4 separate regions of the Homo sapiens genome follow, and all the other regions are linked to region 1. The links are contacts of gene promoters, found by promoter capture Hi-C in human tissues and cell types (Jung and others, 2019). All regions are on one chromosome and are shown on one strand. The core of a region is centred on a gene start or on the middle of the fragment in contact, and the rest is flanking DNA. Distances in the headings are between cores, read along the strand shown.

Region 1 (6,735 bases), core at 1,626-4,125:
GGGGAGCAGGAAGGCCCGGGCCGGGGGGAAAGGTCGGATTTGCTCGGCGGAAGAAACACAGATGGCGGCGGCGCAGCGCCATTCCGGGCCGGGAGCAGGCAGCCAGCAGCCCTGTCCTCACCGCGGTCCGCCCGCCGCCGCTAAATACCCGGATGCGCCGCCCAAGCGCCAGACGCGGAGCTGGGAAAAGGGAGGCAGAGGAGGCGGAGGCAGAGGCAGAGGCAGAGGCAGAGCCCGAGCCCGGTGCCGAGACCAAGCGACAGACCGGCGGGGCTGGGCCTCGCAAAGCCGGCTCGGCGAGCTCTCCCGACACCCGAGCCGGGGAGGAAAAGCAGCGACTCCTCGCTCGCATCCCCGGGAGCCGCACTCCAGACTGGCCCGGTAGTCAGGGGCTCAGGAGCAGATCCCGAGGCAGGCTTTGCTCAGCCTCCGACGAGGGCTGGCCCTTTGGAAGGCGCCTTCAACAGCCGGACCAGACAGGCCACCATGACCGAGAATTCCACGTCCGCCCCTGCGGCCAAGCCCAAGCGGGCCAAGGCCTCCAAGAAGTCCACAGACCACCCCAAGTATTCAGACATGATCGTGGCTGCCATCCAGGCCGAGAAGAACCGCGCTGGCTCCTCGCGCCAGTCCATTCAGAAGTATATCAAGAGCCACTACAAGGTGGGTGAGAACGCTGACTCGCAGATCAAGTTGTCCATCAAGCGCCTGGTCACCACCGGTGTCCTCAAGCAGACCAAAGGGGTGGGGGCCTCGGGGTCCTTCCGGCTAGCCAAGAGCGACGAACCCAAGAAGTCAGTGGCCTTCAAGAAGACCAAGAAGGAAATCAAGAAGGTAGCCACGCCAAAGAAGGCATCCAAGCCCAAGAAGGCTGCCTCCAAAGCCCCAACCAAGAAACCCAAAGCCACCCCGGTCAAGAAGGCCAAGAAGAAGCTGGCTGCCACGCCCAAGAAAGCCAAAAAACCCAAGACTGTCAAAGCCAAGCCGGTCAAGGCATCCAAGCCCAAAAAGGCCAAACCAGTGAAACCCAAAGCAAAGTCCAGTGCCAAGAGGGCCGGCAAGAAGAAGTGACAATGAAGTCTTTTCTTGCGGACACTCCCTCCTGTCTCCTATTTTCTGTAAATAATTTTCTCCTTTTTTCTCTCTTGATGCTCACCACCACCTTTTGCCCCCTTCTGTTCTGACTTTATAAGAGACAGGATTTGGATTCTTCAGAAATTACAGAATAATTCATTTTTCCTTAACCAGTTGTGCAAGGACAGCAACAACCAATCTAATGATGAGAATGTACTTATATTTTGTTTTGCTATTAACCTACTTACGGGGTTAGGGATTTGCGGGGGGGGCTTGTGTGTTTTGTTGGCTTGTTTGCCATGAAGGTAGATGTGGGTGGGGAGAAGACACAAGGCAGTTTGTTCTGGCTAGATGAGAGGGAACCCAGGAATTGTGAGGTTAGCAGGAATATCTTTAGGGTGAGTGAGTTTTCTTTGAGTTGGGCACCCGTTGTGAGAGTTTCAGAACCTTTGGCCAGCAGGAGAGAGGTGGTAGGGAGCAGCCAGCCGGCAAAGGAAGGAGGGGGAAAAAAACCGCCACCGGGCTGACTTCCACCTCCCAGTGGTGAGCAGTGGGGGCCCAAACCCAGTTTCCTTCTCATTTTTGTTAGTTTGCGCTTTCGGCCTCCCTATTTTCTTAGGGAAGGGGAGTGGGGTCCAAGTGACAGCTGGATGGGAGAAGCCATAGTTTCTCCCAGTCAGCTAGGATGTAGCCATTGGGGGATCTTTGTGGCTTCAGCAAATTCTCTTGTTAAACCGGAGTGAAAACTTCAGGGGAAGGGTGGGGAGTCAGCCAAGTGCCTCAGTGTGCCCTGTTGAAACTTAGGTTTTTCCACGCAATCGATGGATTGTGTCCTAGGAAGACTTTTCTTTTCCTCTGGATTTTTGTTCCTCCTGTACAAGAGGTGTCTTTGCTTGGTTTGGTGGGGCTGCGGCCACTTAAAACCTCCCGATCTCTTTTTGAGTCCTTTATTATAAGTAGTTGTAGCTGCGGGAGGGGGAGGGGGAGTGGGCGGGCAGTGGATAGTAAGACTTACTGCAGTCGATTTGGGATTTGCTAAGTAGTTTTACAGAGCTAGATCTGTGTGCATGTGTGTGTTTGTGTATATATACATATCTAGGGCTAGTACTTAGTTTCACACCCGGGAGCTGGGAGAAAAAACCTGTACAGTTGTCTTTCTCTTATTTTTAATAAAATAGAAAAATCGCGCACTTGCGCGTCCCCCCCCCACCCCCTTTTTTAAACAAGTGTTACTTGTGCCGGGAAAATTTTGCTGTCTTTGTAATTTTAAAACTTTAAAATAAATTGGAAAAGGGAGAAACTGAGCGGTGTATTTTTCCTCACTTTGAAGACTGGAGAATGAATGCGGAGCGGTTAGGCGGGCAGGCAGTGGGGACATCTGGGGCGTTTGCACCTGAGAATGGCGGGGGAGGGTTCAGGAGCTGGACAGAAGCCAGGAATCCTTAGTCCCGGAGGCTGCGGAACGTGCCTTAGCCGGCTTCTAGGCTTCTGCCTTTGGGGTCCAGAGGGTACCCCATTTCCGGCCGAGAGGTGAGTACGTGGGAATGCGGTGGGGAGTCTGGTGGGCTTGGCCCTGACGCGACTTCCTCCGCCCCCTTCCCTCCCCTCTGCCATCCGGACTTCGGCAGTCTCAACTTACAAGTCAAGCCTCTCGGTCCCTGGCGGATCCCGCCAGGCCCCGCCCACCCGTCCTAGGCCCGCCTCCCCGCCTTTTTAAGCGAGCCCCCCTAGCTCCGATTGGCTGCTGGAGCCCGGCCCCCGGCCACGCGACCAGGCTGCGTCCGCGATGCGCACGGCTCCCAGGCAGGCAGGCGCGCTCGGGCGAGGTAGGAGCGATGTGGCCTGGGAACGCCTGGCGCGCCGCACTCTTCTGGGTGCCCCGCGGCCGCCGCGCACAGTCAGCGCTGGCCCAGCTGCGTGGCATTCTGGAGGGGGAGCTGGAAGGCATCCGCGGAGCTGGCACTTGGAAGAGTGAGCGGGTCATCACGTCCCGTCAGGGGCCGCACATCCGCGTGGACGGCGTCTCCGGAGGTAACGCTCCGTTCCGGGAGTCGTTCCAAGACCTTTCCCGAGCTTGCGCTGGAATGGAGGTCCTGGAGGTGGGGGTGGGCGGCTCCTACACTCTTAGCTACTGTTCCCCTTCGCATCTCTCAGGGCGACTTTATGGCTTCCTAATATTGACTCTTGCCTGGTTAAACCCTTTTGACGGAGGGAGGCGATTTGCCCAGCAAGAAAACCCGCATTTCTTGAGCGGCTCCTTTGTGAAGGTCTCTACCAATTGTTGCTGCACGTGAACTCCTGCTAACTTCTAGACGCAGGAATGACTAATTCCACTTTACAAACGAAGAGGCTGAAATCCACAGATGTGAAATGGCTTGCCCAAAAGCCCCCAGCTAGCTGCAGGCAGCGCTGGAATATTGGAGCTGGAACATTGCCTGACTGGCCAGAGAGGACAGCTTGCTGGGTAAACTCATAGCAAGCAAGGGGTCCCAGGGCTGCCACAGAAATCACATGATGAGTTGGCCCTGCCAGGTCTCCCTCATTTCTTTCTTTCCTTTTTTTTTTCTGAGATGGAGTCTCGTCTTGCTCTGTCGCCCAGGCTGGAGTGCAGTGGCGAGATCTCGGTTCACTGCAACCTCTGCCTCCCGGGTTCAAGCGATTTTCATGCCTCAGCCTCCCAAGTAGCTGGGACTACAGGCACGTGCCAGCACACCCGGCTAATTTTTGTATTTTTAGTGGAGACTGGGTTTCACCATGTTGGCCAGGCTGGTCTCGAACTCCTGACCTCAAGTGATCCTCCCGCCTCAGCCTCCCAAAGTGTTGGGATTACAGGCGTGAGCCACCACTCCCAGCCCTCCCTCATTTCACTCTAACCAGTGGTTACACCTGACTTATTCGTGTCAGGCCTCAGGTGAGTGGTAATCATCAACAAGCTCCCAAAGCTGCCTTCTGCCCAGGAAATAGGCATAGAACCCTTGGTGCTGTTGCACTCATTTGTAAAACAGAGGTCCCAGGTAATCCCTTCTCTCCCTCAGGGGAAGCTTAGAGCCGGTCAAAAGATGGGAAATTAGGAGACCCAAGTTCTCATCCTGTTTTTGCCTTTCCCAGGCTGTGTGAACTTTCCCCTCTGGCTGTTTGCTCCTAAGGTCAGCTGTGTTCACTCTGGGCTTTAGAATTCGGGGACTGGTATCTCAGGCACCTACCTTTGGGGGTGTGATTCTGGCAGCAAAGTAAACTGTGGAGTTCCAGGACTGCAGCAGGCGTCTGATCCAGCCCTCTTCTTTAACCCTCAAGGAAACCAAGGGGTCAGATAAGGAGTCAGTGGTGGTCTTCAGGCACAGGAGAAGCCTGTGAGGAAGGGCTGAGTTCCTCCTTGGGTAGAATGTGATTCAAAGCCAGAGTTTAGGCTGGGCACAGTGGCTTGTGCCTGAAATCGTAGCACTTTGGGAGGCCAAGGCAGGAGGATTGCTTGAGGCTAGGAGTTCGAGACCAGCACGGACAACATAATGAGACCCCATCTCTACAAAAAATAAAAAAATTTAATCGGGCATGGTGGCACGCACCTGTAGTCCCAGCTACTCAGGAGGTTAAGTGGGAGGATTGCTTGAGCCTGGGAGGTTGGGGCTACAGTGAACCATGATTGCACCACTGTACTCCAACCTGGGCGACAGAGCTAGACCCTGTCTCAAAAAAAAAAAAGTTTAAACTTCTTGCTCTTCAAGATGTGTAGCACTGACGCTCCTTCTGTAGCTGTTGAATTTGGTGCCTCCTCAATGGTGACTCCAGGTCTGTTTCCTTTCTGGACCATTTCCCCAGGGCCTGGCACTGTCATCTTTCCAGGCCTGCCCTTGCCCCACCTGAGCTGCTGTATCCATCTCCTCTCCTTCACCTCAGGAATCCTTAACTTCTGTGCCAACAACTACCTGGGCCTGAGCAGCCACCCTGAGGTGATCCAGGCAGGTCTGCAGGCTCTGGAGGAGTTTGGAGCTGGCCTCAGCTCTGTCCGCTTTATCTGTGGAACCCAGGTACACAGTGAGTGGTGGGGGGTTGTGGGGACTGACCCCAGCTGCCTGCTTCCCACAGTCAGCAAGGCTGGTTTAGCCAGCTCAGCTCAGCCACAGCCCTGGGCCTACTGTTGGCCTCAGAGCTGTGCAGCAGAAAGGCTGAGTGCAGGCCTCTGTTTTGCTGAAAAGCTTTGGCCAAGGAACTTTATATATATATTTTTTCTTTTTGAGACAGAGTCTTGCTCTGTCACCCAGGCTGGAGTGCAGTGGCACAATCTTGGCTCCCTGTAACCTTCGCCTACCAGACTCAAGGGATTCTCCATGCCTCAGCCTCCTGAGTAGCTGCGATTACAGGCATGCTACCACACCCAGCTAATTTTTTTTTTTTTTTTTTTTTTGAGATGGAGTCTCGCTCTGTCGCTGAGGCTGGAGTGCGGTGGCATGATCTTGGCTACTGCAAGCTGCGCCTCCCAGGTTCACGCCATTCTCCTGCCTCAACCTCCCGAGTAGCTGGGACTACAGGCGCCTACCACCACTCCCGGCTAATTTTTTGTATTTTTAGTAGAGACGGGGTTTCACTGTGTTAGCCAGGATGGTCTCGATCTCCTGACCTCGTGATCCACCCACCTTGGCCTCCCAAAGTGCTGGGATTACAGGCGTGAGCCACCGCACTCGGCCTAATTTTTATATGTTTAGTAGAGATGGGGTTTCACCATGTTGGCCAGGCTGGTCTTGAACTCCTGGCCTCAAGTGATCTCCTCCACCTTGGCCTTCCAAAGTGGAAACTGCCTTTTTGAGCATTCATTTTCCCACCTGCAAAACAGAGTCCCTCACACCTGACCTTCTATAAGAAAAGAGGAGTAGGCGGCAGGAACTGAGACTAAGGGCTCTGGGGCTGTTCTGACGGGAGCACAGTTGCCAGTGCTGCCCTTTAGTGTCCCTGTTCCTGTGGGCAAGTATCTTAACTTTTCTCTGTCTCAATTACTTCATAGGGAAAATGAAGATAATAGCACTTAATAGGATCATTACAAATTAAAGACTTAATACATGTAATGCTTAGAATAGGCCGGGCGCAGTGGCTCATGCCTGTAATCCCAGCACTTTGGGAGGCTGATGCAGGCGGATCACCTGAGGTCAGGAGTTCAAGACCAGCCTGGCCAACATGGCGAAACCCTTTCTCTACAAAAATATAAAAATTAGCTGGCATGATGGTGGGTGCCTGTAATCGCAGCCACTTGGGAGGCTGAGGCAGGAGAATCGCTTGAACCTAGGAGGTGGAGGTTGCAGTGAGCTGAGATCACGCCACTGCACTCCAGCCTGAGCAACAGAGTGAGACTCTGTCTCAAAAAAAAAAAAAAAAAAAAAAAGCATAGAACAGCCTGGCACATAGTACTGCTCAATGAATGTTGGCTATTATTTATTTTCCAAATGTTACAAAATAAATTTATATAAGTATGAAACTTAAATAGTACTTATTATGTGCCAGGAATTCTTTTAAGAAAATTACAACTATTGGCCAGGCGTGGTGGCTTATGCCTGTAATCCAGGCACTTTGGGAGGCCGAGGTGGGTGGATTACTGAGTTCAAGACCAGCCTGGCCAACATGGTGAAACCCTGTCTGTGCTAAAAATACAAAAATTAGCTGGCCGGGCTCGCT
Region 2 (6,735 bases), core at 1,384-3,883, 260 kb after region 1:
AGATCACCTGAGGTGAAAACTTCCAGACAAGCTTGGCCAACATGGTGAAACCCTGTCTCTACTAAAATACAAAAATTAGCCAGGCATGATGGCGGGTTCCTGTAATCCCAGCTACTTGGGAGGCTGAGACAGGAGAATCGCTTGAACCCGGGAGATGGTGGTTGCAGTAAGCCGAGATCGTGCCATTGCACTCCAGCCTGGGCAGTTGAGTGAGACTCCGTCTCAAAAATAATAATAATCATCATCATCATAGAATTGATTTTTTTAAATTCAATTTTGTTTTTATCAAAGTGCCATATGACTTGCCTCTACCAAGTCAAGAGCATTAAAAGCCCTGTATCAAATAATAGCAATCCACTGCCCTTCCCCTGGGCACCTCACCCGGCTTTCTCTGTCTCTTCATGCATGGGCTTCCATTTTTCTCAATAGTCTCACTCTGTCGCCCAGGCTGGAGTGCAGTGGTGCAAGCATGGGTCACTGCAGCCTTGATTTCCCCAGACTCAGATGATTCTCCCACTTGAGCCTCCAAGTAGCTGGGATTACAGGCACGTGCCACCAAACCTGGCTAATTTTTGTGTATTTTTTGTAGAGACGGTGTTTTGCCATGTTGCCCAGGCTTGTCTCAAACTCTTGGGTTCAAGTGATCCACCCGCCTCAGCCTCCCAAAGTGCTGGGATTACAGGCGTGAGCCACCGTGCTCAGCCTATCCTGTTGTTTCTTGATCTATCACCTGTAAATATCTATTGACTTTGCCTCGTCTGGTAGATGAGAATTTAGTTCTTCCCATGACCAGTCTGTTTCCTCTCATCCCACCTTTCCAACATAGTTATTTTTCTATTTTTGGCTAAATTAATATTAGTACAACGGAGATTTTGTTCGGGAAATCTTTTCCAGATGCCTCCTAGGCTCTGTTGTAGGCACTAGGGATAAAAGAATAAGAAAGCAAAGATCCTACTCTTGCGGAGCCCTCATTCTAGTCAAAACAACTCTATGTTTAACTTTCTGAGGAATCTATGTTTCTTTTCTTAATTCAGCCTGTTCTTGTGTTTTGAGAGGGTGGGGGTAATTTCCTGTTTTGTTTTTTTCATTTGCACTCTCCTTGTTTTCTCAGTATGTTTTCCACAATTTCCCATCTTTTTTTTTTTTTTTTTAAATTAAGTCTTGCTCTGTTGCCAGGCTGGAGTGCAATGGCGTGATCTTGGCTCACTGCAACCTCCAGCCCCCGGGTTCAAGTGATTCCCCTGCCTCAGCCTCCGAAGTAGCTGGGATTACAGGCACGTGCCACCACGCCTGGCTAATTCTTGTATTTTTAGTAGAGACGGGGTTTCACCATGTTGGTCAGGCTGGTCTCGAACTCCTGACTTCAAGTGATCCACCTGCCTCGACCTCCCAAAGTGCTGGGATTACAGGCGTGAGCCACCATGCCCGGCCCCATTTTCTTCAGTCTGTTTTCCGCCCTGTAGTCTCTCCCCCTTGTGCCCTCCCCCTGCCCCTGCCCCTTCTCTTTGGATTCCCCCATCTTGGGGGTCCCTTTCCTGGTTTACTCCCTGATCTCCCGTGGAGAATATCCTCCTGTAGCTTTCTGAGAAAGGGCACGTGGGATGTCAATTTTTTGAGACCTCGGGTCTGTCTTTTTTGGTCATTGTGGTTCCCATATTCCTTTCAGTTGACATTTTGGCTCATTCGATTCAAGAATGAACGTCAAGGTTGACAGTAATTCCTGTGTGGAAGTGTGATGGCCTTGTCACATTGTCCTTTGCTGTCACATGGCTATTGCCATTCTTATTGGTGATCCTTTATTTGTGATGTGTTTTATTTCTGATCTGTGAGAACTTTGAGGACTTTGTTTTTGTCCCTGGTGTTGGGAGGAGTCGTGATGGTAGCTGCAGGCACAGGCTTTTGTTTATTGTGCCAGATCCTCAGAGGGCGTCATCGGGAACACCATGTCCTTCTTGTCATGTATCTCGATGATGACATCCTGCTTTCTGTATTCTCTGTTCTGCTTTTTTCTATTTTTTTATTGTGGTAAAATTTACCATCTTAACTTTTTTTTTTTTTGAGACAGGATCTTGCTCTGTCGCCCAGGCTGGAGTGCAGGGGTGCGATCATGGCTCACTGCAGCCTCAACCTCCTGGGCTCAAGCGATCCTCCCACCTCAGACCCCCGAGTAGCTGGGACTACAGGCACGCGCCACCATGCCTGGCTCATTTTTGTATTTTTTTTGTAGAGACAGAGTTTTGCCATATTGCCCAGGCGATCTTCCCACCTCGGTTTCCCAAAATGCTGGGATTACAGGTGCGCACCACCGTGCCCAGCCCTTGGTCTATTTTTGAATTAGGTTGTTTGGTTTTTGTTGTTGAGTTTTAAGAATTCTCTACAAAGCACAATCGGCTAAGAGGAAAAAAAGAAAAAAGAGTTTTAGGAATTCTGCATATATTCTGGATATTAATCCCTTATCAAAAATGTGATTTGCAAATATTTTCTCCCATTCTGTGGGTTGCCTTTCTTTTCTTCTCTTCTCTGTTCTTTTTTTTTTTTTTTTTCGAGACAGTGTCTCACTCTGTTGCCCAAGCTGGAGTACAGTGACGGGATCTCAGCTCACTGCAGCCTCTGTTTCCCAGGCTCAAGCGATCCTCCCACCTCAGCCTCCCAAGTAGCTGGGACTACAGGCGTACACCACCATGCCCAGCTAATTTTCGTGTTTTTTGTAGAGACAAGGTTTTGCCACATTGCCCAGACTGGATGGTGTATTTTGATGCACCAGTTTTAAAATTTTTATGAAGTTCAATTTGTTTATTTTTTGTTACTTGGATCTTAGGTGTCACATCCAAGAAATTACTGTAAACTCCAATGTCGTGAAGGTTTTGGACTAGGCATTTTTCTGAGTTTTATAGTTTTAACTTTTACATTTAGGTCTTTGAACAATTTTGAGTTAATTATTATTATTATTATTATCTTCGAGACAGAGTCTCGTTCTGTTGCTCAGGCTGGAGTGCAGTGACATGATCTCGGCTTACTACAACCTCCACTTCCCAGGTTCAAGCGATTCTCCTGCCTCAGCCTTCTGAGTAGCTGGGACTGCAGGCGCCTGCCACCATGCCCAGCTAATTTTTGTATTTTTAGTAGAGATGGGGTTTCGCCATGTTGGCCAGGTTACTCTCGAATTCCTGACCTCAGGTGATCTGCCTGCCTTGGCCTCCCAGAGTGTTGGAATTACAGGTGTGAGCCACTGCGCCTGGCCTTGAGTTAATTTTTGTATGTGGTGTTAAGTAGTGTCAACTTCATTTTTCACATACCATTGTTGAAATGACTGTCCTTCCCCATTGAATGTTCTTGACACCCTTGTCAAAAATCATTTGATGCCGCCGGGCACGGTGGCTCACACCTGTAATCCCAGCACTTTGGGAGGCCAAAGCAGGTGGATCACCTGAGGTCGGGAGTTTGAGACCAGCCTGACCAACATGGAGAAACCCTGTCTCTACTAAAGATACGAAATTAGCCGGGCGTGGTAGCGCATGCCTGTAACCCCAGCTACTCGGGAGGCTGAGGCAGGAGAATTGCTTGAACCCGGGAGGCGGAGGTTGCGGTGAGCGAGATGGCGCTATTGCACTCCAGCCTGGGCAACAAGAGCGAAACGCCGACTCAAAAAAAAGAAATCATTTGACTATGTATTTGAGGCAGGAGAATTGCTGGAGCCCAGGAGTTCAGTGCCACAGTGAGCTGTGATCACGCCACTGCACTCCAGCCCGGGTGGTGAGACGCTTTCTCAAAAAACGAGAGCAGAGGGTAGAGTGGAAGACAGAGCCAGGCAGTGGTCAGGTGTCTTCCCAGGTTCCATCTTAGCCCTCCCTTTCTTCCCCCACCACTCTCCTTATGCACCCACAGGTATTTGACAACACCCCAGCAGCCTTGGACGGCACAGTGGCAGCTGGCGATGAGATCACCGGTGTCAATGGCAGGTCAATCAAAGGGAAAACTAAGGTGGAGGTGGCGAAGATGATTCAGGAGGTGAAGGTAAGGGCTGCTGCAGAGCAGGTGTCCAGAGGCAGCAACACATGTTTCTGAGACCTCCAGGCTGCCAGAGGTCCCAGCAGGCCTGGAAGGGGGTATCAGCCCTCACCGCCCCCTTCCTTGTCATGTGCAGGGTCAGGGTCACACTCCAGCCTCCCTCATCCATCCCTCATTCATTCAATAAATACTAATCGTGCTCCAGGACTTGTGCTGAACCTTGGCAAGAGAGTGGGCAGCAAGACCACAAGGTCCCCATGAGCTCCCAGGGAGCTGACAGACTTGGAACCACCCCTCAGGCAAGCCCATGTGTCCCCAGTCAGTGCCAGAGCTGAAGCTAAAAGTCCAAGGTGATCCTCCCTGGGTCAGTAGACACCCAATAATGTCAGCCGGGTCACGCTGGGCCTGTGAGGGCTAGGAGGGAAAGAAGAGTGCCCTTTCCCCATCCTGTAGGAACTTTCGGTCCCACACAGCCTCCTGGGCTCATAGACACCCAGAGACCCCCCTCCCAGGCCAGCTGATCTTCTGCTCTACAGACCAGAGTCACACACTGCCTGCCCCGCTTTCCCCCACCCCTGCCGCTCCAGGACTGGAATGGCAGGCGGCATCCCGGCCTCTCCTGAAGCGAGCATGCAGCCCCTTTGCCATTTCCTAGCGAAGTGGCTGCTAGCTAGTCTCAGGAAACCAATACTGTGAAAGAACTGATGTGCAGGCAGTGCACAGCCATGGGGTGATTTGAAAGTCTCGGGGGCAAGGGTCCCCACTGTGAGTTCAGCTTGGCCAAGGGTGGCAGCTACCTCCCTCAGCCCCACTTCCATCCTCCGGGTTCTGGCACTCCTGATAGTCCGCCTTCCTGCCTTAACCCAGGCCAGCCGCTGCTCCATCCTCTCTCCCCTTTATCCTCCTGTCCTGCTCCTGAGTAGTCCGTGCTTCTCTCCTTCCTTGCTGTAGGAAGAGTCCCATCCTGCACATTCTCCTATTCCAGCCCCTTTAGCCATAGGACAAATCAGGGCCTGGGGCTGGGGCTCAGAGCTCTGTTGTAAAAAAAGGAAGCAGCAAGGTTCATTGAGACCCCACAGCTGCCACTCCACGTGGTCTGGGTATCACTGCCTCAGGTATGACCTGTTAGGCAGAGGAGCTGATCATGGGAACAGGTGCAGGGGGTCTCGTTCTGGCCGAGTTGGGTTGTGTGTGCCCCATTTGGCAGCCCTTCCCCCCTCCGCATCTCCTCCCCATCTCCACTCGCCAGGTCCCTCCCTGTCCTCTCAGGCTTGGTCATACCAGCACCTCAGGTTGCCCATGAGGACAAGAGCTCTTTGTATTTGCACACAGCCATGACAGGGATGCAGCATTGGCCCAGCTCCCCTGTTTGGGTGCTGGGCAGGGATTACTCTCCCATCTTACAGGTGTCCACAGGCGGGGAGTGACCTGCTTGTGGTCACACAGCTGAACTGGAGCCCGGGCCCGACTCCCACTGCAGCCCGCTTGCCGTTGGCCTACAGCTGCTCCCTGTGGGGTGGCCCCTGAGCACGCCTGTGTTTCATTCTGCGGGAGCAGTTCACACCCCACCTCTGACTCTGATTGCATCTGCTCATTTTGGTTTCCCTTTGGGACTTGATTTTAAAATCCTGTTTTATATTTGGATGAATGTGGTCCCAAGTTCAAGGGCTTTTGGTTTGCAAGGATGAGAGTGAACACAGCGCCCTCCCGTGCTCAGGCAAGTCCTCTTGGGAGAAGCCTTTGTCTCCTGAGCAGTCGTTAGAAAGTGGTTTGTGTAATTCCCTGATTCGCATCAGCCTTGCGGGGCTGGGGCTGCCCCTGCCCCTCCCCTTGGTGCCCCAGCACCAGGCACAGAGCAAGTGCTCAGATGTGCTGTTCGATGAGTAGAGGGATTCCTGGGGATGGGGTGTTTTGGGGTGGAGGAGGGAATAATCAGTGTAGGGAAATGACACGGCAAAGGCTTGGAGTGTGGTTTGCGTGGGGAGGGAAGAAGGAGAGCCTGACCTGGCCGAAGCACAAGACATCAGAGACCGCCAGGCTGTGGGCCCGGTGCCGGCCCTGTCCCCACTGATTCCCCAGGGCTTGGATGTAGAGTAGGAAGGGAGGGGCCTGGGATCAGACAGGGTCACAAGGTGGGGCCATGTCACAGCGCTCAGCCTGGCCCTTACTGGGGCTTAGGATTCTTTTTTTTTTTTTTTTTTTTGAGACAGAATCTCATTCTGTCATCCAGGCTGGAGTGCAATGGTGTGATCTCAGCTCACTGCAACCTCCGCCTCCCAGGTTCAAGTGATTCTTTGCCTCAGCCTCCTGAGCAGCTGGGATTACAGGCACGCGCCACTACGCCCAGCTAATTTTTGTATTTTTAATAGAGATGGGGTTTTGCCATGTTGCCCAAGCTGGTCTCAAACTCCTGACCTCAAGTGATCTGCCTGCCTCAGCCTCCCAAATTGTTGGGATTACAGGTGTGAGCCACCGCACCCGGCCTTGGGCTCAGGAGTCTCAGTCCAGAACAGTCTTGGCTGGGAAGGGGCTCAGGGTGTGGAGCCTCGCTCACTAGTCTGTGTGTGCTGCTCTTCCAGGGGGAGGTGACCATCCACTACAACAAGCTGCAGGCGGACCCCAAGCAGGGCATGTCCCTGGACATTGGTAAGCTGGTCAGAGCAGTTACGGGTGTCCAGCAGCCTCCCTGGATGGGCCCTGGCCCAAAGGAGAAGTGCCACAGCCAGC
Region 3 (6,735 bases), core at 3,008-5,507, 250 kb before region 1:
GTAAATGGATGATGGGGTGGAAGGATGCATGGGTGTGTAGGCGGCTGGATGGGTGCATAAGTGGATGGATGGATGAATGGGGGATAGGCAATGGGTCAATGGAAGGGTGGGTAAGTAAGTGGTTGAGTGATTGGATGTATGTGAGTAGCAGATCAAGACATGGACAGGAAGTAGGTGGGTAAATGGGTGCATGGAAGGGAGGGCAGATGGATGGACAGGGGAGTGGGCAGTGGGTAGATGGATGAATTAGCGATCGCATCGACAGATGGATGGACCAGTGGACACTCAAGAGCTGGAGAACGGGAAAGACCAATCAGTGGTCAATGAGCAGATGCATTAACTGACCAAAAGCCCAGCCAGACTTTGGGGTACAAAGGGGACATGCACCCTAGGGAGGGGCTGATAGTTGTGGCCTCAGTTGAAGGCTCCCATCCCAAACCTCCCTGGAACCTGGAAGCAGCCACTGGCATTCCTGGGTCCCCAAGGAGGAAATACTTCTCCGTAGCTCTGCCCTGCCCCCTCCTCCCTGGCTCCATAGACTGCTCCCTGCCCAGGACCTGCCTCCTTCCCTTAGGCCCCTTGCCTTGGCCAACCCAATCTGCTGGGCTGAGTGGAGGGGGCAGCTGAGCCCTGGGACTATAGCCTGAGGAGCCTGGTTCCTTCAAGACAGGGAGGTAGGGGATCCTGAGCTCTGGGCGGTTGGTTCACCTAGCAGCTCCCCGTCCCCAGCTGGGAGGCATTTGTTCTGCATTCTGCACGATGATTACAGCCCTGCCAAGGTTAACCCCTGCACTCCTGGGCACAGCCTCTCAAAGGGAAGGAAGGGGACCGCAGGAAATTGGGGGAGGAGAAAAGCATGATAAAGGGAGACTGCCCAACCCTGGATCCTTCTTGGGGATATTGAAACTTCTCCCTTTCTCCCGTTTTCCAGAGGGAAAAACTGAGTCAGATCCTTAAATCAGGAGTGGAGCCAGGAACAAGGGCACAGCCTACATGGAGATAGGTTTCTATCTGGAGGCAGGCTGCAAAGGAGGGAGAGGGCTCCTCTCTGCCTCAGCTTACCCAGATGTAAAAGGGGGCAAGAATTCCTGATTCACAGGTTGCCTGTCAATGAGCTGGAGAAGACAAAGCGTGTGGCATATATAGTAGGGAGGTTCTCAACCTCTTGTTCTTTCCTGCCTGCCCTCCCTGCCCGCGGGTGAAGAAGATGGAGCAAGCATGGGGCAGGTTGTAACCACTTCCATCAGGACTGCTTGCTCAGTCATCTGCCTGGGGCTCACAACACCCCAACTAGTAAATACCCACACTGCTATTATACCCATTTCAGAGATGAGAAACTTGAGGCTCAAATGGGCCAAGTGCTTTGCCCACGGTCAGCCACTGGGCCAGGATTTGAGCTCAGGGCCTTTGACATTGCACCAGACTGCCTCCTTTACCAGCCGCTCTAGGGATCCTCTGACTAGAGTGACGTGTAATTGATTGTCTAACCAGGTCACCTTTGAGAATGAAAGGAAGTGCTATTAATAATTACACTGGAACAGTATGTGTAATCTGGGCTGTCCTAGGCAAACTGGAAAGTATGGCCATCCTGCCAAAGTAGGGAGCTTTACGCAAATCACTTCACTTATCTGCAAAAGGGACACCATGGCAGGACTTTCCCTATGGGGCTCTCACAAGAATTAAATGTCATAATGCATGTTAATGAGCTACAGGACCTGGTATGCATCAGGTGCTCAATAAGTGCTGGTTACTACTGATGCTATTAATAGTAATAACCACAGTAGCACTAGTTCTTTGTTTCCATCACTGTCCTTCCAGTCCATTCTTCACTCACAGTCAGATTTCTATTTTGTTTTTTGTTTTTTTGAGATGGGGTCTCGCTCTGTCGCCCAGGCTGGAGTGCAGTAGCACGATCTCAGCTCACTGTAACCTCCGTCTCCCAGATTCAAGCAATTCTCCTGCCTCTGCCTCCTGAATAGCTGGGATTACAGGCGCCCACCACTATGCCCGGCTAATTTTTGGTATTTTTAGTAGAGACAGGATTTCACCATGTTGGCCAAGCTGGTCACGAACTCCTGACCTCAAGTGATCTGCTCGCCTCGGCCTCCCAAAGTGCTGGGATTACAAGTGTGAGCCACCGCGCCCGGCACTTTTTTATTTTTATTTTTTAAGATGGAGTCTCGCTCTGTTGACCAGGCTGGAGTGCCGTGGTGCGATCTCAGCTCACTGCAACCTCCGCTTCCCAGGTTCAAGCAATTCTCCCTGCCTCAGCCTCCCGAGTAGCTGGGATTACAGGCACCCGCCACCACGCCTGGCTAATTTTTGTATTTTTAGTTGAGACGGAGTTTTACCATATTGGTCAGGCTGGTCTCAAACTCCCAGCCTCAAGTAATCTGCCCACCTCAGCCTCCCAAAGTGCTGGGATTACAGGCGTGAGCAACCACGCCGGGCAACAGTCAGTCTTCTAAATGTACACCTGCCAGTGCTGCCTGCTGGCTCACTGTCCTGATGCTGTTCCAGTTCTCCATGGGACAAAATACTCCTGGGCCGGCCCCCAGGGAAAGAGTTCCTACTGCTGTGCCACTTGAGCAAATGCTAGAATGCTTTGTGCCTCTGTTTCCTCATTTGTCCAGCTGCAGAAATAGCTCCTTCCCTTGGTGGCCAGCATGGGGATTCAGGGAGCCAGTGGAAGAGGCCTAGCCCCTGGGTGAACAGTAAAGACCTTGTCTCCTCCACCTGCGGGTAAATACAGCTCCTCATCCCCGGCCACAACAGCGCTCAGCCAGTCTCCTTCAGCCGGGTTTGCCTCCGCTGCAGGGTCCTCCACTCCCAGCCTTTGCTGTGCTGTCCCTTGCCAGCTGTGCACTGTGCATTTCCACTGCCCTTCCCTCTGCCTACACGTCCTTTAAGACTTAACTCACAACCATGCAGTGGCTCACACCCATAATCCTAGCACTTGAGGAGGCCAAGGCAGGCGGATCACCTGAGGTAAGGAGTTCAAGACCAGCCTGGCCAACATGGTGAAGCCCCCTCTCTACTAAAAAATACAAAAATTAGCCGGGCGTGGGTGGGTGCCTGTAATCCCAGCTAGTCCGGAGGCTTAGGAGGGAGAATCGCTTGAACCCGGGAGGTGGAAGCTGCAGTGAGCTGAGATCATGCCATGGCACTCCAGCCTGAGCAACAGAGAGAGACTCCGTCTCAAAAAAAAAAAAAAAAAAAAAAAAAAAAAAAAAAAAAAAAAAAAGAGAGAGAGAGAGACTTAACTCAGGTATCATCTCCTCTAGGAAGATTTCCTGAGCCCCCAGGCCCTGCAGGAAGTATTAGGGACCTCTCTGTGCCCTGACAGCCCGAGGACTCTATAGTCAGATGGGAGTAGTCAAAGGAGGGCACAACAACGGGAGGCAGGGGCCAGAGATCTATCTCCCCTCCTTGAGGATGGCACAGGGTCCCGGGTATGGCTGATTCCCTGCCCTCCATGGAGGTGGGCGGGGTGGGGGGAGGGTCTGTAAAGTCTCTGAGATGCGACTTCATTTACCTGCCGAGCAAGCCTCCTAGGTGCTCTTGGAGCAGGAAACACTTCACACAACATCTGATGCTGCTATTATCTATCCCACTTTCAGATCAGGAAACTGAGGCAGAGAAAGGTAAGTAGTGACTGAGGCAGGACAGGAGCCCAGGCTGTCCGGCTCCAGGGTCCCGGTCTTGACGGCCACTCTACCCCACTCTACCAGTCGCCCCAGTATGGCTGTCTTCCTCCTGGGCACCGCGGGGCCTGTACCGGATGGAAGGGAATGAGAATGGGGAGCAAAGGAGTGGGCATGTCATGCCTGTAAACATCAAGGTTTAAAGGCCCAGGCATTCAAGGCCTCAGATCGAGCTTCCCGGTTCCCCGAACTCCCGCAGGGCGCGGCTGGAGGGCCCAGGAGGGAGGAGAGTTCATCAGGCCTGGACGCCCCAAGCAAGGCCACGAGGGGAACCGGTGGAAGAGGGGTTGGCGGCCGGGGACCGGAGTCGCCTCCCCGGGGCAGCCCGCACGTTCCCCGGCTGGCCTTGTCCGGGGTGGCGAGCAGAGGCCTGGCCTGGCCCCCCAGCCGCGTCCCTGCCAGCTCTCGGCGGCCGCGAGGACGGTGCCGGGGAGGGGGCCGGGGAGGGGGCCGGGCCCCGCCCGCGGGCGGGAGGAGACGGGCGGGAGGCGGGAGCGCCCACACCCCGCCCCCGCCCCCGGATCCAGCCCGCGGAGCCCGCGGCCAGGGCGGCGCAGACCGGCCCAGCGACTCTCCCGGGCTGCCAGCCGGGACGCGCGGCCGCCGCCGCTGCAGACGACGAGTCCGCCCTCGTCCCGCGCCCCCGGGGCTCGCGGAGCCAGGTAACAGCCCGGGCGCGCGGGTCCTCGGGGCGGAGGCCGTGGAGGCCGGCGGGTCCCGGCGCCCGCGGGGACTCTGCACCCTACTAGGCTCCCGGGGCCGGAACGGGGACGGGACCCGCCCGGGAGAGGCGCCCCCGGGTGCCCACAGGAAGGCCGGGCGCGGCCGCGGAGCCGCGCGAGGAAACTCCGAGCTTTCGGGCTTCGTGTCCCGTTCCAGGCTGGTGGAGGGGGCAGAGGATCGGACACGGCTGAGCGGCCAAAATGCGCGAGGAGGGGGCGAGCCGAGGGGCAGAGCGGGGGCTGTCTCCGCGCCTTCCTGCGCGGGGGAAGGAAGGGCCGGGGCGGGCAGCGGGCGACGCGGCGGAATGTCTCCCCTCCGCCGAGGCCCACGCGGAGAGCGGGAAGTGGGGGGTGGGGGGCCCGGGGAGATGGACAGGCACCCTGCCCCCCTCCCCGACCGCCGCATTCCAGGCTGGAGCCGCGGATGAGGTCATCCCGTCCGGTTCCCCTCCGGCCAAGACAGCCGGTCGTCCCCTTCCCCCGCGGAGCGACCCTCCGCGTCCTGAGCCCCGTCCCCCCAGGGAATGTTGGATGGCCGAAGTCTTTCCCGGACTTCCAATCCCGGCCGCCCTCCAGATTGTTCTGCCTTTGCCCCAGCAGTGCCAGACCCGCAACATTCGAAGCCCTTTTCCTAGACCGGGAAACTGAGGCTTAGAGAGTAGGGGGGACTGGCCGGGAGGCCGCAGCGGCACTAAACGTGGCGCGGGGACCCGAGACGCGGCCCGCAGCCGCTCCGTCTCGCTCGGTCCCGGGCTGGTTCGGCTCTAACTCGGGGCGGTGGGCACGAAGCGCGTCTCCTTTCCACTTTCCCCGTCGCTCCCTAATGGCCCACGGTGCCCCCCTTGGAATACGGAGGACCGGGTCCCCTAGCGCGACTGCGAACAACTAGCTACCCCGTTCTGGCCTCAGTTTCCCCGTCTCTCCACCTTGAAGCGTCTGGACTTTGAGGAGCAGGAGAAGTCAGCCGACCGGTTTAACCCCTTATTCCAGGGACCAGAGCAGGTTTGGGGGAGCTGCCGTAACCATGACAGGGACCCGCTGTCCAGCGGTGGGGGGGGGCGTCACCCAGCTGGATGCCCGCAGGAAGTGGGCTGTGTGCACCCGAGCAGTGGCCTCCAGGATGAGACGTGGGCCCCTGGCCAGCACTGCGGCCTGCGGGTGACCCCCAGGTGAATGCCAGGGTGCAGCCGCCCCCGCTCTCCTTCAGACCCGCCCTTGGCCTCCCCGCGACCACATGTGCCTCCACAGCGACCCCTGTTGGCCCGATCCCGGCTCCAAAACTTGTTCTTGCGTCATTCCCACCATTGAGTGAGCTCAGGCCATGTGCCCAGGCCCTGACTATCCTCTATAGGGTAAATATAAGGACTCCAAGGACACTGAGGCTGTGTGGTGACCTCCTTGCCCAGGTCACAGGCAGTGAATCTGCAGAGCTGGGTCTCCTGTCTTCCCAGGCCTGCACCTGCACCCCACACCGGGCTCAGCACTGGGCATCCAAGCCCTCCAAATCGTCTTCCCCATTCCCCATCGTCTTCACCCCCACCCTGGGGCATTTACCAGCAATGTTGGTCTGTGACTGAGGGTAAATGTCTCCTTTCTGAGCTTCGTTTTTTCCATCTGTGAAAGGGGTGTTCTGAACACTAACGGGCGGTGTTCCTGAGCAGGTGAGGGGAGGTGAGCCTGGCACCAGGACACTTGGAGCCCTGCTTACTCCAGTGCCAGGTGAGGCACACCTGATGGCCAGCAGTGCCCTGTGGTTGGCAGCAAGTGCCACGTGGCTGCCACCGGGGTCCCTGGAATGAGAGATGTTAGTGTAAAGGTGTCAGATTTGAACCCATGGCTGCCCTGCTCCAGTATCTGAGGGTTTCATTACATTTTCTACCCTTGCAACTCCCCTGGGAGGGGAACTGCCTGGTGTGCTGTTCCGTTTTCCACATGGGAAGACCGGGTCCCAATACCCTGCCCTCAGCTCCACAGCGCTGCAGAGTCTCTCGACCGCAGTAGGCAGGGTAGTGTGAGGGGTGGGTACTATTGGGGGGGTGCCCAGAAACATTTGAAAGATGGGATCATCGCAAGATTGGGGAGGAAGCTGGTCCCCCAAGTCAAAAGTGACCATGGGGGTTCAGGGGGGAGGAGCCCCTTTTGCTGGGAGATGAGGTGCTGCCTCAAGAAGTCAGGGAGGCCAGGTGTGGTGGTTCACACTTGTAATCCCAGCACTTTGGGAGGCTGAGGCAGCAGGATGGCTTGAGTTCAGGAATTTGAGACCAACCTGGGCAATGGAGTGAGACCCTGTCCTTACAAAAAGTGGAAAA
Region 4 (6,735 bases), core at 1,907-4,406, 180 kb after region 1:
CCTCAGCAAGTAGTGCCAGTTTTCCTGACTGCCACACCTCAGGCTGGCCCCTGTGCACACAGCTTGAGTGATGGCCAAGAATAAGTCCTCCTGAAGGGAGTCCAAGCCCAGGGTTCTGGGCTGGGGGAACCTGGGGACAGGGACAATGGAGGAGCCAATCTTAAACCCTTGGCAATGGGAGATGGAGGGAAAATGAGGTCCGTCCTTGCTTTGACTCTCGTTGGGCTCGTACTGTGGTCTTCTCATGGTCCCCAGAGTCTGCCCTATCTGTATGTCTCTCCTGGTTGTCTGTTTCTCACTTGCTCTTTGTCCCCTGGCACTAAAGATACTGGCCTGGGCCAAGCCCCACCCAGATCTGGATGGACCTTGGGTGGAGGAGCTAGCTGTGACCTCTGCTCTTGGGCAGAACTGGGCTGTCTGGGTCCACACAGCGGGCTGGTCGCTGAGCCCTGGGCCTGCCCTGGGTGAGCAGGGCACTGAGGGCTGAGAAGGGGCAGGGGAAGGGGCACCAGGTCTTCAGCAAACACATGGCAAGAACAGGCCAGGGGGCGGGATGTGAATCTTTTGGTCTCTTGGAGATCCTCCTGCACCTTCTACCACTCTAAGCCTCTAGACCCAATCTCTACCCAACTGTGGCTGGCAAGGGGGAGGGCAGCGGAAGAGAGCCGGGCTCCTCTGACAAAGCCCTAATTTTCTGGAACCCAGATGCTCCTCACTCTTGTTCTCATCTTCTTGCTTCCCCCCAACCTCCTGACCACTCCTCAAAGTGTAGGTGATCCACCACTGTCACCAGGGTCAGGGGAAGTCCTCTGGACAGAGAGTATGGGAGTCCTGGGTTCTGGCCCTGGCTCTGCTACCAACTTCTATGTGACCTTTGTGATTCCTTTGCCTTTCTGGGCCTGTCTCTTGGTCAGTCTAGCGAGAATCAGGTGACTGCTACCGGCTCACATCTCCTGGAGTCCCTGGTCTCTTTCAGAGCTGCTCTGGCACTCCCGGGTGGGAGTGGGGGACTGTCTTGTTCCACACATCCCCAGGAGGCCTGGCTGAACCCCAGACCTGAGTCGAGGGTGGGATAATTGCTCCCTGCGGGGGATGTTTTTCCTAGAGGTGTGGGCTGGTCCCAGGGAACCTGGGACTCTGAGGGCCCCTGGGCAGGAAGGAGGCCAAGGTTTCCTTCTGGCCAGAGTGCTCAGCTCCAGCTCTGGGGCAGTGGGGAAGAGGTTGCTCAACGTTGGGGTGGGGCCCTGGCAGGGAAGATGGCGCCGAACTGGGAGAGGGAGGAAAGAGATCAGCTTGGTGACTCTGGGGCAGGGCAGGAGGGGGAGCCCCTTACTGTGTGTCCTCTCCCTAGGAGGATGAAGAAGCCCCCAACTCAAAGGAGGGTGGCGTCAGAAAGTCCCAGGGAAGAGCCCTAGGATAGGATGAGGTCCCGCAGCAGCAGATTTGTCCCGCAGTTCTTCATCCCTCACTCTTCCAAAGACTCTCATCTGAATTCCGTTTTCTTTAAACCTCCCCTGAGTTCTCCATCTGACTGCCTCAGTTTCCCTGAATCTCCAGCCAACCCTTTGGTTCTTTCCAAGCGTTTCCCTCGTATCCTCCTGACCACAGCAGCTGGTGGCATAGTGTGCGTATCTGTGGGCAGGAGTTAGTGAAGGCCTCCTTCCCTCCCTCCAAAGCCCCAGGCCCCACGGTCTGCCACCCGCAAAATTCCAACCACGAGGGGGCGCCTTCCTGCCCGCCGCCCCGTAGGGAGACCCGGCCTAGGCCGCTGGAGTTCCGAGTTCCAGGGTCCTTGTGATGGAAGGGCGGGCGCGGCCCCCACACCTGGTCTTCCAGCCCTATCCAAGGAGGACTGCCAGACAGTCCCGCTCTGAGGTGCAGGAGGCCGGGCCGCCTCGGCTACCCTGAATCCACCCGAAGCTAGAGGGCCCGAGCCCGGGGGGCGGTCGGGTGCTCACCTCCAGAGCTTGCCCAGCGTCTTGCTGAGCTCAGCGTTGTGCAGGTGCGGGTACTGGTCCGCGAGCTTCCTGCGCGCTGCCTGAGCCCACACCATGAAGGCGTTCATGGGCCGCTTGACGTGCGGCTTGCTTTTGCTGGCGCCGTTGACGCGCACGGGCATGGGCACCAGCGTCCAGTCGTAGCCGCTGAGCACCTGGCTGACGGCCTCGCGGATGCACACGGGGAACTTGTCATCGTCCGCCTCGCCGTCCTGCTGCTCCTTCTTGACCTTGCCCAGCTCGCCTGGCCCCGGGCTGGCTCGCAGGCCCGATCCGCCGCCGCCGCCGTCGGGCCCTAGCGAGGGCGCGCTCCCCGGGGACAGGCAGCGGGGCTCCTCCGAGCCCACGGGGCTCAGCTCCACCTCCGATAGGTCCTGCTCCTCCGCCATGTCGCCCCCGGCCGCCGCCGCCGCCGCCTCGGCCGCCTCCCCCGGGCCAGCCGCCGGGGTCCTCGCAAAGAGTCCAACGCCCACCTGGATGGAAGGAGGGCGCGATGGAGCGGCCGCGCGCGCAGCCCCGAGGGCGGCCCGAGACAGGACGTGGGCACAGCCCCGAGGTGGCGGCCCTTCCTGCTCCAGCTAAACCCATCTGGCCCCTGGGGCCCACGCACATGCCAGACTCTAGGTGGGTGCGTCCCGCCTCTGTGTCTTCCCACCACCTGGTCCCAACCGTCTCTTGGTGTGGGTGGCTTTTTTTTTAGCCTCCTTTTTTGGGTGGAGGTTTGTTGATGATAAGGAAGAAAAAAACGGAGCCTTTATTTTGCTCTAATCCCGGCCCCTGGAATTTCCCACCTTTTCTCTCACCTTTCCTTCTTCCCTCAGCCTGCCCCAACGGGGTTTAGAGGAGAGCCAGGTGGGGGGCAAGGGCGGGGTGTCGCCTCTCTCCACCTCACAGCAGGGTCCCAGGCCTGGGCGGGCCAGGGAGGAGCAGGCTGCGCACTCACCTCCTCGGACCTCTCCTCCAGTCTGGGGCTCGTCCTTAGGAAGTGGAAAACCGTGTCCCAAGGTGTGCGGTCCAGCTCGGGGCTGGGAGGTGACGCTGGTGGGCTGGGAGGGAGGGGCGGGGGGCCCTGAGCCTCAGGCCACGGCCTCGTTAGGACGGAGCCTGAATCCTTACCACCAACCACCCTGGCCGGACAGCCCGAGACTGACTGAGCGACTGAGCCTGAGCCGCTGCGGAGGGCTGGGGAAGGAAGGAGGGGGAGAGGGGGGAGGGGAGAGGAGGGAGGGAAGGGCAGAAGGTGGAGCCTCCAGGCTTTCCTTCATCCCCAACACTCAGGGCTCCTCCACCCGGAGCCCAGGCCCCCCCACCCAGCTCCCTGCCCTACTGCCCAGGCCCATCTTGCTGAGGCTTATCTTGGGCTTAGTCTGGGAGGTGGAGGGGAGGTTAGGCCGAGGAAGGAAGAGATGTAGGCTGGAGGGTCAGAACCTGTTGGATGGAAGAAAATTGGGCCCAACCAGGACTCCTAACGTCTGCCTCAGGTGGCAGGATGGGCACTTGGCAGGGGACTAGGGAGAGACGTGAAGGCGGTGAGGGTCCTGGGGGCCCGTGAGGGTGGCTGGCCCTAGCTGCTTCGTCTGCGAAATCCTGTTGAGTGCCTAGTGTGTGCCAGGCACTGATGCCCAGCTCCTCACCCTGCCTCCTACCTTTTCCCAGGCAGCCCTTTCTGCCCCATCCTGCACAGTAAGAGAGACTTCTCAGGGATCCCTCTGAGAAGTGCAGAGCCCCAGCTTGACCCCTGGTCCCTTCTCTGCAGACACCCAGCACACGCGCGTTCTGGTCTGGTTCAAGGTGGAAACACAAGACTAAAGCTGCCAGGAGGCCAAGGTGGGACAGGTTGGGGGCCCTCTCTCAGTAGGTCTTAGAGGCATTTTGGGTTGCTACCTACTGGGACCCAGCTCCTTCCACACTGGGCTCACCCTGTCTTGGGAGAGGGTAGGGGAGTCCTAGTCCTGATTGTCACGAAGTCCTCTACTCCCCCACCCCAACAAGGGGTGGGGACTTGCCCTGCCTCTTCCCTCCTCTGCCCACCTCTCCCTCCCTCCCCTTTTCTTTCCTGCCCATCCTCCGTTGACACCTTTTTCTCTCTCTTTCCTTGGCCTCTCCTCCAAAGGTCGCAGTGCTGTTCTCTTAACTGAGGGCAGCCCCGCCGGGGTGTTGAGGCCGAGGTGGGGTGTATGTGGGTTATGTAATGGAGCTGGGGTCGCATTGGCAACCATGTGACGTTCTGAGCTCCTCAACAGCAGGGCAAAGCCCCAAGACCACCCCAAGGGGTCCTGTCTGGAGTGGGCTGCAAAGGGTCTGGGGAGGCAAGGCCTCATGCTTGGGAAAGTCCAAAGGGGTGTAGGGGGTGGGAAATGGGACACAATGAGGTAGTCACACGAGGCAGAGGCATGTTGGGGGTGGGGGGAGCAGACACTGGAACACACACACACACACACACACACACACACACACATGCTCACACACACAACCAGCCAGACAATCGGGCCAGTGTGTCTGGGGCCTCGGAGCCCAGTGAATTAGGAGTTTGATAAGGGTTTTCTCTTTCTCTCGCTTGCTGGCCTTGGACAATCTCCCCCCAGTTTTCCTCGACGCCACCCCCGGCGCTGCCAACCCTCCTCCCCCCGCCTCCCTTCTCTTCCCTGTGCCCAGACTCTTGTTCGGGGCCTTGAAACAGTGAGCTGTCTTTGTTCGAAATACAGGTGAACGGCAATCATGTGATTAACACACACACACATAAAAAGCTTTTTAACAGCGCCCGCTCGGCCTCAGAACCGCCCGGAGAGGAGCCGCCCTGGATGGACAGAGGGACGAGGGACGAGCATCTGCCGTCGTGTCCCGGCTGCCCTGCAGTCGCCTCCAACACCCGCTGCTGCCCGCCCGCTGCCTGCCTGCCTGGCATCTCTCTCTCCCGGTGGGTCCCCACTCATCCTTCCACCCCTCAGTTCCTCCTCTTTGAGGAAAGGACCTCCCCGCTCTCTGCTGTGTCTGTGACTGGCCTGAGACCCGCCTGGGGCAGGAGGGGTGGTTGTGGAAGGAAAGAGCCCAGAGTTAGGAGGTGGAATGTGGGGTCCCACAGCTGCCCCCTCTCTAACTCCCTGCTTCCTCCTTTGCCCTCCTTGGTCCAGCTGTGCCAGGATGGGGGTGGGGGTAGCAGTGGGCACGCTCTGTCTGCAGGAAGCCACGCTAGACAGAAGGGGCCACTCCCTCTCTCTCTCCCTTGTCCCCGCACAGACACTGCCTTCCTCTCAGGGCTGTGCTGGGCTTTTTGCTGAGCAGTGTTGGGTGAGGCAGGTGGGCCTGCAGGGCGGGTGGGAAGGGCTGTCAGATGACCAGTGCTGTGTGTGTGTGGTTGGGGCCCCTGCTGCGAACACATCCCTGCCCACCATGCTGGCAACTGGGATCCCCTCCATCCCATCCCAGGCCCTGGGAACCCAGTGCTCTCCAGCAGGCAAGGGTGAAGGACCCATAGTCATTCCTGAAGAGCAGGGAGCTTGGAGAGGGGAGGGATCCTGGCTGAAGACACCTGGGCCTCTGCCCCAGCAGGACAACAGGAGGGCCAGTGTCACCTTCTCCTCCTTTCCCTGCTGGGGGTGGCAGGGGTCCCTTTACCCCCTCATTCTTGACCCTTCTCCAGGGATGCTTGTGACCTCCTTACCCCACCCCCCATCACCTCTCTGTCCTGAAGTGAGGGTTTGTCACCGTCCATGGCAAGGTGTGGTGTCTGGTAGGCTCTATGACCTGCCTTCTCTCAGGGTGTTTATTCTGCAGCAGAGAGGGGTCTGCGGTCTGAGTGTAATGGTGGAAATCCAGGCTTCCTTCCATGGCCCAAGGAGGCCTTTCCGGAGCAACAGGGTTTTCCTGGGACTCAGCCTGGCTTTTGTTAAGGCAGGTCCCGGATTTACTCAGAAGATGGGCCCCAGAGAGGAGGAGAGGAAAGGAATACCTGTCAGTCAAACGTGAAGCCCACTGATGACACTGCCTGGCAGAGCTGCCTCCGGTCAGCAGTGACCCTTCACCCCCCAGCTCCCAAGTCCTCTTCCTGAGGGAGCTGGTCCGGCTTTATGGAAGGCTCCGCCTGTGTTCCCCCACTGGGTCCCTGGTCCCTCACCTGTCACGTGGGGCGATGGTCACCCTCCCTCCCTGCCTGCCCTGAAGGATACACTGAGATGAAGGTCAGGAAATCTGCTGGCTGCAGAACCAGGGGCCATGCAGGAGTGAGGGATGGTCTGGTCAAGTTGAGGCTCTGCCCCAGCCTCAGTTTCCCCACACAGGCATGAGACTGTCTTCCTGACTTTCAGAGGACAGGGCTGAGATGGGATGAGGGAACACAGGGAAAGCGTTTAGCACCTCTGAGTGCTGTGTGGATGCGACCTGGGGGGTCCTGGCCTCCACTCTTTAATTCTATCTGGACTGTGTGCCCTCCTACCTCCAGTTTCCCTGCGGGGGCCTTTCACAGGGCCTGGCTTGCGGATACGGGGTTTGGCGTAGGGCAGTGCTTCTCAAATGGGAAGGCGCACTGGGATTCTTCAGGTTGGGGTGGGGCCTGAGGTTCTGCATTTCTAATCAGTTGCCTAGGACTGGCTCTAATTCTTGTTGAATTTACAATCACTTGTGGAGTTAAGAAAAACATACTGGGCCTTGGTTGGGTGTGGTGGCTCACACCTGTAATCCCAGCACTTTGGGAGGCCAAGGTGGGCAGATCATGAGGTCGAGAGATTGAGACCATCCTGGC

Evidence for each region. The method cuts DNA at HindIII sites, captures the fragments that hold promoters and counts their contacts. A contact is called where the count stands out against the background at its distance.
Region 2: a contact is called between a fragment that was not itself captured here and the fragment with the promoter of GCAT in region 1, in 1 of the 25 tissues and cell types used here (thymus).
Region 3: a contact is called between the fragment with the promoter of CDC42EP1 here and the fragment with the promoter of GCAT in region 1, in 1 of the 25 tissues and cell types used here (pancreas).
Region 4: the fragment with the promoter of SOX10 here is called in contact with the fragment with the promoter of GCAT in region 1 in 4 of the 25 tissues and cell types used here (lymphoblastoid cells, mesenchymal stem cells, ovary and 1 more).

The regions. Positions count from the first base shown.
Region 1 is chr22:37,805,059-37,811,793 of GRCh38, forward strand. GCAT (glycine C-acetyltransferase) reads left to right here and starts at 2,876. Exons shown (of 9, transcript NM_014291.4): 1 at 2,876-3,105; 2 at 4,969-5,099. The coding sequence starts at 2,910. It overlaps H1-0 (H1.0 linker histone), which reads left to right and starts at 171. Exons shown (of 1, transcript NM_005318.4): 1 at 171-2,374. The coding sequence starts at 487. The coding sequence ends at 1,071. RefSeq lists silencers at 257-336, 2,691-2,980 and an enhancer at 567-1,262. The HindIII fragment of the contact is 28,064 bases long and covers 1-4,691 here.
Region 2 is chr22:38,061,117-38,067,851 of GRCh38, forward strand. It overlaps PICK1 (protein interacting with PRKCA 1), which reads left to right. Exons shown (of 13, transcript NM_012407.4): 4 at 3,886-4,014; 5 at 6,588-6,654. Among named protein-coding and RNA genes, the nearest start is that of PICK1, 7.1 kb to the left of the region's middle. The HindIII fragment of the contact is 9,593 bases long and covers 1-6,735 here.
Region 3 is chr22:37,556,223-37,562,957 of GRCh38, forward strand. CDC42EP1 (CDC42 effector protein 1) reads left to right here and starts at 4,258. Exons shown (of 3, transcript NM_152243.3): 1 at 4,258-4,366. RefSeq lists enhancers at 4,894-5,500, 5,501-6,108, 5,577-5,806, 6,109-6,715. The HindIII fragment of the contact is 19,033 bases long and covers 1-6,735 here.
Region 4 is chr22:37,981,399-37,988,133 of GRCh38, forward strand. It overlaps SOX10 (SRY-box transcription factor 10), which reads right to left and starts at 3,157. Exons shown (of 4, transcript NM_006941.4): 1 at 2,941-3,157; 2 at 1,959-2,470. The coding sequence starts at 2,386. It also overlaps a transcript of POLR2F not described here. RefSeq lists enhancers at 1,426-2,263, 4,218-5,052. The HindIII fragment of the contact is 28,697 bases long and covers 1-6,735 here.